Regions from separate parts of the Homo sapiens genome. Here all the other regions are linked to region 1. Evidence: promoter capture Hi-C in 16 types of primary human blood cells and fetal thymus (Javierre and others, 2016). All regions are on one chromosome and are shown on one strand. The core of a region is centred on a gene start or on the middle of the fragment in contact, and the rest is flanking DNA. Distances in the headings are between cores, read along the strand shown.

What was found. Contacts are between HindIII fragments. The CHiCAGO score rates a contact against its expected background, and 5 or more counts as called.
Region 2: a contact is called between a fragment that was not itself captured here and the fragment with the promoter of TMSB10 in region 1, in 2 of 17 cell types (M0 macrophages and fetal thymus). The highest score is 8.6, in M0 macrophages.
Region 3: a contact is called between a fragment that was not itself captured here and the fragment with the promoter of TMSB10 in region 1, in 1 of 17 cell types (non-activated CD4 T cells). The highest score is 7.1, in non-activated CD4 T cells.
Region 4: a contact is called between a fragment that was not itself captured here and the fragment with the promoter of TMSB10 in region 1, in 6 of 17 cell types (naive CD8 T cells, non-activated CD4 T cells, total CD4 T cells and 3 more). The highest score is 8.7, in naive CD8 T cells.

The regions. Positions count from the first base shown.
Region 1 is chr2:84,904,233-84,907,114 of GRCh38, reverse strand. It overlaps TMSB10 (thymosin beta 10), which reads right to left and starts at 1,459. Exons shown (of 3, transcript NM_021103.4): 1 at 1,397-1,459; 2 at 998-1,112; 3 at 444-726. The coding sequence starts at 1,097. The coding sequence ends at 692. LOC105374836 (a long non-coding RNA gene) reads left to right here and starts at 94. Exons shown (of 2, transcript XR_940308.3): 1 at 94-452. RefSeq lists enhancers at 133-192, 1-1,196 and a silencer at 1,163-1,702. The HindIII fragment of the contact is 2,703 bases long and covers 840-2,882 here.
Region 2 is chr2:85,288,576-85,291,457 of GRCh38, reverse strand. All of the region lies in intron 4 of TCF7L1 (transcription factor 7 like 1), which reads right to left. Among named protein-coding and RNA genes, the nearest start is that of TGOLN2, 38 kb to the left of the region's middle. RefSeq lists an enhancer at 1,008-1,508. The HindIII fragment of the contact is 5,806 bases long and covers 1-2,882 here.
Region 3 is chr2:84,533,011-84,535,892 of GRCh38, reverse strand. All of the region lies in intron 4 of DNAH6 (dynein axonemal heavy chain 6), which reads right to left. Among named protein-coding and RNA genes, the nearest start is that of DNAH6, 18 kb to the right of the region's middle. The HindIII fragment of the contact is 614 bases long and covers 1,093-1,706 here.
Region 4 is chr2:84,633,532-84,636,413 of GRCh38, reverse strand. It overlaps DNAH6 (dynein axonemal heavy chain 6), which reads right to left. Exons shown (of 77, transcript NM_001370.2): 30 at 1,773-1,910. Among named protein-coding and RNA genes, the nearest start is that of DNAH6, 120 kb to the right of the region's middle. The HindIII fragment of the contact is 1,490 bases long and covers 787-2,276 here.

The DNA.
Region 1 (2,882 bases), core at 210-2,709:
CTTTGTTTTAAGCTCCCGAAGAAAGGCTTCCGGAGACTTTGTGACCTCACCCAATTTCCAACATTCCAGATTGTCTTTTCTTTCTTTAAAATCAGTGTTCCCTTCTGAGTCAGCTAGGAGGAGGCCAGAGGGAAACAGTGGGGCTTTCGAAGCTTATCAAAAGCAAACCTTGCTCTTTTGAAAAAGCATTTTCCAACGCAACCTGGGGACAAAGTGGGGTTAAATTTTACACAGATTGCTTACGAGCAAGAGTTAAGTGGCTAACAAGTCATGAAATCTTACGGAGAAGCAGGTAAAGCCAAAATTAAAAACTCCCTCCGAGTCAGCCCATTCTGCGACCCACCTCCTCCCCTTTGCGGCAGGAACTCTACTCCATCGAGGGGCTTTGCTGCAGTGGCACTGCCCACGCATACTCAACTAAAAGACTCAGACCACGCCAGCCATGCCACGAGGTGTGTTTTATTTTCATTATTCATACAAATAATTTTCTATAATATCCCGGGGCAAACCGGAGAATTTGGCAGTCCGATTGGGGGGGGGTCCCTTCAGAGACCCACAGGCCGGTGGCATCGGCGCGGAGTGCCCAGGTTCACAGTGCAGCTTGTGGCTCGTGTCCATCTTGCAGGTGGCTCTTCCTCCACATCACGACTGGGGTCTCGAAGAGGACGGGGGTAGGAAATCCTCCAGGATCTTAGGAAATTTCACTCCGCTTCTCCTGCTCAATGGCTGTGGAGAGCGGGAAGCGGGCGCTGGAGGGGAGCTGCAACCCCCACCCGCAACCGAGGTGCTTCCCGGTGTGGGCGAGGCACCCACGAGGTGTGGGGATTTAGAAGGAAGCTTGGGGCTGGGGAGAAACAAGGCGCTTTGTGAAACTGAAAGAGTGGCCGGGGCCGCCCACACCGGGGACAACGGCGGGGTGGGGGGTGGAGGAGTGGGTTTGCAAGGAAGAGCAGGGTGAGGGGCTGGGCTGGGGCGCGGGAGACCGAGGCACACTCACTCTCTTTGGTCGGCAGGGTGTTCTTCTCCTGCGTCTCCGTTTTCTTCAGCTTGGCCTTATCGAAGCTGGCGATTTCCCCCATGTCTGGTTTGTCTGCCATTTTCTTAAAACAATCCTAGTGGGCAAACCAAGGCGCTTGACCTGGGCCTGGGGGCCAGCGTCCCCTTCCGCGCTCCCCGCCGACGCCTCTCGACGTGGCACTCGCGCCAAGGCGTGCCGAGCAGCCCCAAGGCCGAGGATCTGGGCGCGTCCCGCACCCCTCTTCTCGGTCCCAGGGCGTGGTCGCCGGCCCCTGCGTCCGGTCCGAGAAGGGCGCCTGTCGCGGTTGCGGCGCGCCCGCCCGGTGCACCGGATCCGACCACACCCTGGGTGGGCCCCCCGCCCCGGCGCCGCACTCACCGTGCAGTCTCGTTCCGAGCCCGAGATCCTGGTGCTCCCACTCGCGTTGCTGCAGCAAGAAACAAAAGAGCGGCGCCCGCCCCTAGCCTTATATACGCCGCGCCCCGCCCCGCCCCTCACCCGCCGCAGCAGGGGCGGTGCTGGCACCCGAGGGGCGGGAGCAGCGCGGGCTGCTCCTCGCCCTGCCGCGCCCCCCGCTGGGCTACCAGCCCGGCTGGGCGCGGCTTCTCCCGCGCCGGGCACCCCCAGCTCGCAGTGTGCCCAGCGTGGGGGCTGTAGTCGCCGCCAGAGTGGGCGCCAGGCCCCCGGCTTTGCTTTTGCGGCTACATTTCCCCCTTTCCGGGAATCTGCTGCTCACCCCGCAGAAAGGATATGGGACCGGCGTGGGAGGGTGTGTGGTTTTGTGCGTGTGCAGATATGATGTGTAGCCGTGGGTGTGGATGTGCGGGCGTGCACGCGCACTCTGCAGCAATCCTCGCTCTAGGAGACGCCCCACCCCAGTCGCCCCCAGGCCTCTTGCTTTTGCTCCTCCAGAGTCCCCTTCCCTCCCCCACTTTTCCTCTCCTTAGGGAGGCTGAGTCCTAAGGTGGTCCTGCACTAAAAGAATTCGAGCCGAGGGTCCCGTAGTGGAGCGGGGGGCGGGGGGGTGTAGGGGGAGGGGGGAATAGGTTTCCAGCGCTCTTTGCTCAGGTTGGGGGCGGTTGCCTTCTGGTCAGTCGTCCCCTGTTCCCTGAACTGGGCGGTTCCAGCAGGATCGTTGGCGTGGCGGGTGTTCCTTAAATGCTGTTAGACGCATTGTGTGAAGGGCTGTGGTGGGAACAGGGCGTCCCGAGAAGGCTCGCAGTTTGCCTTTTCTCGTCGAGCTCCTAGAAACACTGTATCAGCGGGTGCGGTTTTCCTCCTTGAAGTTAACCTTGAGGATAATAGAGACCCACATGCCTACAAACGTTCTTGTTTTTCTTATTAACCCATTGTAGGAGTGGTATACTGCAATTATTCACATCTTTCTTAGAAAAGTTGTATTTTCAGCCTGTGCAACACCGTTAGGTAATAAGTTCCATAAATTACCAGCCCCGGAGTTAAGGCTGGTCATTCTTTTATTTGTCCTGACCTTTCCTTTTTTAAGTGTGAAGTATTACCGAGCTCTTTAAAGTGGGATTTGGTGGTGACATCCTAAATTCGGTCCTGATTTTATTTATTTACTTTTTTTGAGACAGGGTCTCACTCTGTCACCCAGGCTGGAGTGCAGTGGTGTGATCACGGCTTATGGCAGCCTGGACTTCCCCGGTTCAAGTGATTCTTCCACCTCAGCCTCCTGAGCAGTTGGGACTGCGGGCGTGCACCACCACTAGCGGCAAATCTTTTGTGTTCTTTTTGTAGAGACGAGATTTCACCATGTTGCCCAGGCTGGTCTCGAACTTCTGGGCTCAAGCCATCTGCCTGCCTTAACCTCCCAAAGTGCTGGGATTACAAGCCTGAGCACCAC
Region 2 (2,882 bases), core at 1-2,500, 380 kb before region 1:
GGAACTAGTGGAAAGGCGATTCTTGTTACAAAGTGGGAAGAAACATGGCTGAGTTATTTTGTAGTGTTTTGTGAAAGGTAGAACTTGTGAGTGATGAATTTAGATATTCAGCACAAGTTATTTCTAAGCAAAGTGCTGAAGGTGTGGCTTGGTTTCTCCTTACTGCTTGTAGTAAAATGTGAGAAGTAAATTATTGTTAAGCAAAAAGGAACCAGAACTTGAAAATTTAGAAAATTCTCAGCCTAGCCTCATTGCAAAAAAATGAGAAGGTGTGTTCCTAAGAGAACACCAATGGTGTGGCTGGACGATCAGATAATGAGACTGGGGCTGTGAAGCATGGATTCAACCAACCACCTCAGCAGAAATACTGCCCTTTTGGATTAAAATGGACAAAGACAGGACAAAGGGAAGGAAGGCTGTCAGACTTCTACAGAATGGGCTACAGTGATGTGGCTGCAAACATTTGTTATCTTTCAAGAAGAGGGAAGAATGACCCCAAGAGGGGATTCACAAGGTGTGGCTGCCGCCCAGGGCCTCAGGGGCACAGCTCCCAGCTCCCATCCTGGTGGGCTGGAAGGACAGAGAATGAATGGTGCCAAAGAGGATTATTCTTGAGCATTAAATTGAATAGAACTCTGCTAGCAGACTGCCTTTAGACTTAGACTGTAACTCTTCCCTGCCAGTCTCCAGCCTGCCAGCTTACCCTCTTAAATCTTTCTCCCTCTACACATTCACACTCACTCACTCACTCGCTATATATACATACATCACCTTGGTTCTGTTTCCCTGGAGAACCCTAACACAGAACTGTCCTATATCTTTTTTATTTTTACTTTTCATACCAAGCTAAGCTGACTAGGAGAACTGTTCTATATCTTGATTGTGGTGAACTCATGTATGACTGCAAAAGTTTGTCAAAACTCACAGAACTATATACTCATGTGAATTTCACTATATGTAAATTATATCTTAAAAATGGGGAGGTTGGGCATGATGGCTCATGCCTGTAATCCTAGCACTTTTGGAGACTGAGGCAGGCGGATCACTTGAGGCCAGGAGTGCAAGGCCAGCCTGAGCAACATAGCGAGACCCTAACTCTAATTTTTTTTAAATGGGGGGAAAAGCGCACACGTATACAAATATATGCACAGGATGCTAACTTTAGCTTAAAAACTGGGGCCGGGTGAGGTGGCTCACGCCTGTAATTCCAGCACTTTGGGAGGCCAAGGCGGGCAGATCACCTGAGGTCAGGAGTTCAAGACCAGCCTGGCTATCATGGTGAAACCCCGTCTCTACTAAAAAAATACAAAAATTAGCCATGTGTGGTGGCAGGCGCCTGTAATCCCAGCTACTTGGGAGGCTGAGGCAGGGAGAATTGCTTGAACCCGGAGTGTGAAAGTTGCAGTGAGCTGAGATCGCACCACTGCACTCCAGCCTGGGCGACATAGTGAGACTCTGTCTCGGAGAAAAAAAAAAAAAAACTGGGCTAGGCGTGGTGGCTCGTGCCTGTAATCCCAGCACTTTGGGAGGCTGAGGTGCGCGGATCCCGTGAGGCCAGGAGTGCCAGACCAGCCTAGCCAACATGATGAAACCCCGTCTCTACTAAAAATACAAAAAAATTAGCTGGGCGTGGTGGTGAATACCTGTAATCCCAGGTACTCGGGAGGCTGAGGCAGGAGAATCTCTTGAACCCAGGAGGTGGAGGTTGCAGTGAGCTGAGTTTGTGCCACTGCACTCCAGCCTGGGCAACAGTGAGACTGTCTCAAAACAAACAAACAACTGGAAACCATCTATGTCTATCTATTTTTAAAATGTTTAAATAAAAGGCAACCAGGAAGAGAGAGGTGGCAAAGTTTCAAAGGTGGTAGATATTTCTGCCTTTGCACTAACCTCATCTAGATTTTTCTCTACACCTTCCTCTATCCCTCAACTCCTTACTCTCTAGGTCCCTTTTCTGATTCTGGATGCTCAGCCTAACAGCTAAAATTTGCATTAAAAAACCCCTGAATATCTGACCATTTTCCAAAAAGCTGGATTAAGTCACTCTAAAGTTTTGGAGAACTGCAACCATTTCCAAGTTATCTGGATTATTTGTCTCCTGGTCTCTGGGTCTCTGGCCCCATTTGCCTGTAACTCAGCAGAATTTATTAGGCATCTACCTGGACAGGAAGCATTTTGGTCATCAGAGAGCAAGTTATAAGTATACACACACACACACACACACACACACACACACTCCAGACTGAAATACTATTTAACAAAATGTTTGTGGGTTGTGGGATTATAGATCTTTTTCTGTGCTTTCTGGCATTTTCCCAAGAGTTCTACACAGTGCATGCATTACTTTTACGGTTTCAAAAAAAGATTTTTTAAAATTAAAAAACAGTTCTGAATGAAAAAAGGGGTTGGATCTTGGGTAAATGTGGGTAGAGAAGGGGTATTAACTTTTTACCAGACCATTCATTCTTCCATTCATTCAACAAATGCTCCCGAGCATTACAACAGGCGCTCAGATGCGATTCCTGTCTTCGTGTTGCTTATATTCTAGAGGGGCATATATGTGTTTTGCGTGGCTGGACACAGTGCTCCTGGGGGACACTGGAGGGAAGACAGGCACCTGGCATGTGGGGCCATGGTGAGGGGTCTGGATAATAATCTGCAAGTGATGAAATTACACTGATCGGATCTTACAAATAGTTGCTTATACAATGTTACTGTTAGTCTTTAGAGCTTGTTTTGAAGGTGTAAAGTCCAAATTATTAAGCACTTAACTTCATCCCGCACCCGGGCCCAGTTGTGACTTGCTTAGACATACTTCCTTGTTAGGCAGCTTCTACATGACTCACTAAATCTCTGCAAGTATGCAGGCTGTTTCCTTCGCT
Region 3 (2,882 bases), core at 150-2,649, 370 kb after region 1:
TTTTTTCTTCTTCCTAAACAAAGTTCTTCCAGACATTTCACCTCAGAGACTCTAAATAGTGCTGTTGTCTAGCAGTTACTAATGTCTACAGATTCATCAATATGCAATTAAATATTGCAATAAAACTTTAATAATGTCTTGGATTATGATCATCTATATCATCTAATATGTTGGTCTACTAATGATGTTACTGATTTTTTTTTTTTTTTGCTTTTCTGGTTCCAAGTAGTATAAAAAACTTCCACACAAGCTGGTAAAATCACAATTCTACAATAGTGATTCATTCTGATGTTAGATATTATGTGTTCTTGCACTCCTAGCTTCTTGAGCTTCTTTATCTGATACTAATCTAAAAACAGAAATTTGTTTCATATTTTGTTCTTGTAATGCTTTTAAAAGCTCAAACCCTTTTCTGGGTGGGGTGGATATCTCTGAAAAGGTGTTGAAATAACTTGTTTGACACCACTGGTTAATTTGATAACATTTTTATACAAATAAGATATTTAGGCAAAAGGACAGGTCTATTACTGTAGTTTACAAATCTAAGTTTGAGATAATCCTAATTATGCTGCCTAATTTCTCATCTCTTTTGACTTCTGTGTTTGCCATATAGATCTGATAGTTTTCTAGCTTTAACAGAAAATTTTCCTTATAAATGAGCAAAAAGATAAATAAATGTCAAAATTAAATCCATATTACCATGAAGTATTCAAGAGAATTGTAGACCTTAATATCAGCAAATGATTTAAAATTTTTTAAAAACTCAAGGATGTGGTAAGAAAATATAAAGTATTGGTATATAGGTTTCATTAATTTAAGAAGTAAAATTATAAAATTAAAAAAATAAACATTAATTACACTCATATAGGATCAAAAAGACCTTTGAAAATTACGAAAGCCTACAGTGCTCTTTACCAAGATAATTTTATTAGAATATGTTTTCTAATAAAGAAATGTTATTTCTAATGCTAAATCTGTTATTCTATTTGACTTAATAATCTTTCTTTAGGTTCAAACCCACAACAGTGTCTAAAAAATCATGAGAACCATTTTAAACATTACATTTCCCAAGTTGAATTTGAAAATTAAGCTTTGAAAAATTATTTTTTAAGTTTTAAAAACAATTAATTATGAAATTCAATTAAAATTCAGATTTTTCCCAGTTGGTAACATCAAAAACCAAACAAGAGGAAAAGAGGAAAGAAGGGATAGAAAAAATAATCAGAAACATCTTGTTGCTTATTTTTTTAGGAACACCTAATATTGTGTCAAAAGGAAAACACACAAAAAAAGAGCAAATGAAATTAAAAAAAAACTGAACAAGGATTTCTTTGTGTTTCTCACATACACAAAACAAAGAGTTTTGCTGATAAACTGAGTTTGTCTTAGAAACCTAAAGGAAGTGTTTACAGTAACAATCAAACTCAGTGGGATGGTTCAACAGGAAGGTGGCAGAGGCTGTGTTGTGTTCCCACTATAGAGCTGCTCTCTGGCAGCGGGGACTACACAGTCTTACCCACGGAAATATTTTCTGAATTCAGGAAGTTTGACAAGGTAACCATACAAATATTAGAAAAAGAAAATTTCACCCATGGTAAATTTCTGAGCGATTGTGTTTTTTTTTAAAAAATAAGTTTTTACCACCATAAACAACTAGGGCACACTGGGAGTCACTTGCTTGGCTGCAGTACACTCCTTGGGAAGCTTTGCCTTATAGCTGTGTTAAACATTTAGCATCTGGAACCACTGACTGGGCATTTGATACTCACTCAGACCATCAGTGTTATGTAAATTTTGTGAAGGTCTCATTGCAAATTTTAAAATAATAAATATGTCATAATTTTAAAAAATTAATAAGAAGGTTCTCTTTAGCCATCTGAATGATGGGTAGTGTGAGCCACAGATGAGGGTTCACACACAGCTAGCTCCTTTTCCCCATTGTAATTTTTAAAAAAAATTAAAAGATCTTCAATAACAACCTTAGTTTTTGGAAATGAGACCATGTAACTAGAACTTCTGTCACATAGTTCTGGACCTCTAGACAATCTATGGATCCAGAATTTCTTGATCATTTCACTGGAGTCTGCTTTTAGCACTGAATCAGATGGTAAGCCAATAAGTACATTATGCTATAAAGCTGCAAGGCTGAGTGTTTCAATTTAGAAAATGGAAGTAAACAAATTCTTATCAGCTCTTTGGTTAAATTTGGATTGAAAAGTTATCTCCTCAGGTTTTTGAGTTTAAATATGATTTTTGGATAGATATGCCCACTAATACATGATCAATTATTTTCCTCCAACTAGTAAAATCATAAGATGCTGGAAAGAGCCAAATCCGTCCTAAGGTACATTCGCCATATACACTATAATTCAGTCAGCCTAAAATTCCAATATTGTATTCTTATCTTCAAAGTATTTTGGCACCAAAGTGATAACGCTGTCTACTCAAAATATTGAACATATCTCTAAGACATGACCCTTGAGCAAGCCCCCTAAAATCATAGAAATGGTCTTTATTAGTAATATTAGTTTCACAAAATGTTCTAAATCTTACTCTTCATTTCCTGCATATTTCATGATTGAAATAAAATCTTTTACTTGTTATTTCACTGTATGACCATGGAAAAGTGCACAGTTAGTATCCTTGATTTGAGGAGATCCACAATTTTCACTCTCTGTCAATGCTAAGTCAAAAAATGAGGTTTACTGTTGGATGTGAATGTTGTCTCTGAGCAGGGCAAAGCCTTTCTTGCTGCACACACAGCTAAGTGCTCAGACACTACTGATTCCTACATGCCTTTTGCAGTCTAAATCCCTGCTCACAACTAAATGAAAAAACTCTTCTATAGGTTTTTAGTGACAATTGGAAAAAAAATTGTCAAG
Region 4 (2,882 bases), core at 282-2,781, 270 kb after region 1:
AGCCCATGGGGGTAGTAGACAACCTGCTTGGGACCTGAAGAAGGAAGAAGGATGTTTCAGGTGGAGGAACAGGGGCAGCCATTCCAGGAAAAGGGAGCAGGAGCAAGAAACAACACTGCATGTTCCGGAAATGATGAGCAATTTACTTTGCTAAAGGGCAAAGTTCCAGAAAGCATAGCTAGGCTGGGCCTGAGCATCAGGAGTCCTGCACACTAAACTAAGGAATTTAGATTTTGTCCCATGTTTGGGGGGAAGCAGAGTGATAGGATCAAAATTGGCAGCAGAGAGGTTGGACAGGCTACAGACAGGGAGACCAGTAAGGAATGATCATTAGGGACATAATGAGAGCCAGAATTCAAGAGGTGTAAGTTGGGAGGAGAGGCATCTAGCAGATAAAATTAACAAGACTTGGTGATGGCTTAGATTCTGGGATTAATAGTGATGGGTCAAATCCAAGGTGAGTTCCAGGTTTCTAGTTGGGCACTAGATGAAGATGCTATCAACAGACATGAGGAATACAGGGAAGACCAGGATGGAGTAAGGTGATGTGCCACAGCCTGGAGGAGAGAATGCATGGTACAACTGGAGACCATTTCTGCTGCTGCTGAATGGTTGCTTGTGCTAGCAAACCTCTCAATTTCTGTGGTTTAGTTTACCTATTCTAAACAGTATACCCCACCCCAACTGTCTCATAGGGCACTGGCAGCTTCAGGACGAGGCTGGTTATTTGCAGATGCTCTCCTGTCTCCTCTGTCCTCATGTAGCTGCTCTCCAGTGGGCAAAGCTTCAATCCTGCCTCTACTCTCTCTGGTCCCTGTCCCCTTACTCCATATACTTTGCTTTCAGTGAATTGCTCAGCCAGATGATAATAACTTGCACAATATAGACTATGCTATCTCTGTATTTAAAGATCTTGTGTTTAATATAGGCCTCCCCAGAGTATGCGGGAACAAGAGGGAGTACAGATAAGGGAGCTTAGACTTTAGAGTCTAATAATTTTTGGTGTCTATGAAAATATTTTTTTAACTTTGAATTCTTTTCACCTATTACCTTGGGGGAAATGACATATACTTCACGTAGATTTGGTGTAAGATGAAATAAGTGTGAGCACATACCATAATGACTTACACAATTTAGTAGCTCACTATAGTCCAAGTCATGATTTCTTTTTATTTGTTCTGTAATTCGCTTTTTTGCAGAGGGCGATAATCAAAATATTTAACAACTCTTATCAGGACACCTTCCAATGAGATAGCCTCTGCCTCTGGAGCTAGAGCTGAGTCCAGAGTCCCCCGTGCTGTGCCAGGATGAACCCTTATTGTTGAATCGAGAGGACGTCTGGGGCTCTTCCGAAAGGGCCAAGGGAGTAGTGGGGGCCCTCACAGGGCTTGGAGCAGTGCTGTTTTGGTTTGTAGAGGCTGAACACCAGTGCTGCCCATTGTGACCAGATCTCCAAAGGTCAACACAGAGTGGTAGAGACTTGGTCCCAACCTTCACTGCCATCAGCTTCTGAATATGAAATCCCTTCTCTAGAGACATGCTAATAAGGGGCTAAAACAAATTTTAAATAACAGGACCACTCAGTGTCTTCATCTGGCACCATATTCCTTGGATTTTCTAGTCCAGTGAGCTCTGGAGAGCCAAGGTCCCCTTGGGCTCCCCAGGATTCCTCCCTAACATTTTTAGCATCTCCTTCCTAAAATGTAACATTCTGTGAGTTAATGACAAATTTAAGGATTGCTACCTTGAAAGTCGATTGCCCAGTGCCTTACCTTTGCCGCTTTGGCGTTCCTAATGGTAATGAGTTGCTGCGCGATGACGGACAGAACTTCTATGTCAATTCGATTAAATTCATCAAAGCAGCACCAGGCCCCTGACTGTGCCAAGCCACTGAAGAAGCGCCCCATCATCTGAAATCAAAATAAAGCAGTTCAACTTTGTATTGTGTAGTTCAGCTCCTTCAAAAATTAAATTCTGAGCTGAAATATTAAAGAAAAAAGAGGTGGTATCTGCAAATAAGCAATAGTTTTATGTGAATACTGGTCTATGTCAGAAGTAAACACTTTTCTACAAGAGGAAATATGTTTTTGAGTCTCTCTAAGTGATTTGAATCTGTTTTATTTTTAAACAAAATGACAATCTGACCAATTTTCCTTCTTGTTTATAACCTCCACTCACCTCTGCAAATACTTGACAGATTCTCAAATAGTTTAACACATGGAACATACAAACTTAAGAACTTTAAAAAAACTTGAAAAATTTTACTAATGGAAGCTTTCATTGTCTTTAGAAGGTATTCTACATGGCAGACACACACAAGGACTACTGAGCAGAAGGCATAGCTGTGCAGATTATAGTAGTGATTCTTAATTTCTTCTACAGCAGAATCCTAATGGTGGAGGAAAATAAGAATGTACCATCTAAAGTGTGGCATTTCTTTTGGGCACTTGAGATATTGGTTAAGCATGTATATAAATCTTGCATTATACCATATATCTATCTCTTTAGTAATAGAACTAGTGGTTTTAAATTTCAAGGTGGTCAACTGAACACATACTACTTCCCCCCTTCCTCCGATTCCCACAAATCACAGAAAGGCTGATAGATCTGTGTGCATATCTCTCTCCTTTTCTGTGACCACACTTATACCTGTACCTGCTTGATAAAAACATAATGGAAAGGGAAGCCAGCAGGAAGAAGGTTTTGAAAAAAAAAAAGCTGGAATATGGAAAGCATAGGGAAACAGACTGTTCAACTGAGAAGGGAGAATTGCAGCCCCAAAACAGAGGGAGAGGAGTAATGCCCATCATGAGGTCTCTAAGAAACTCCAAACCCAATATCAATATACACAAGTTGCAATTCATGCAACATGAATACATACA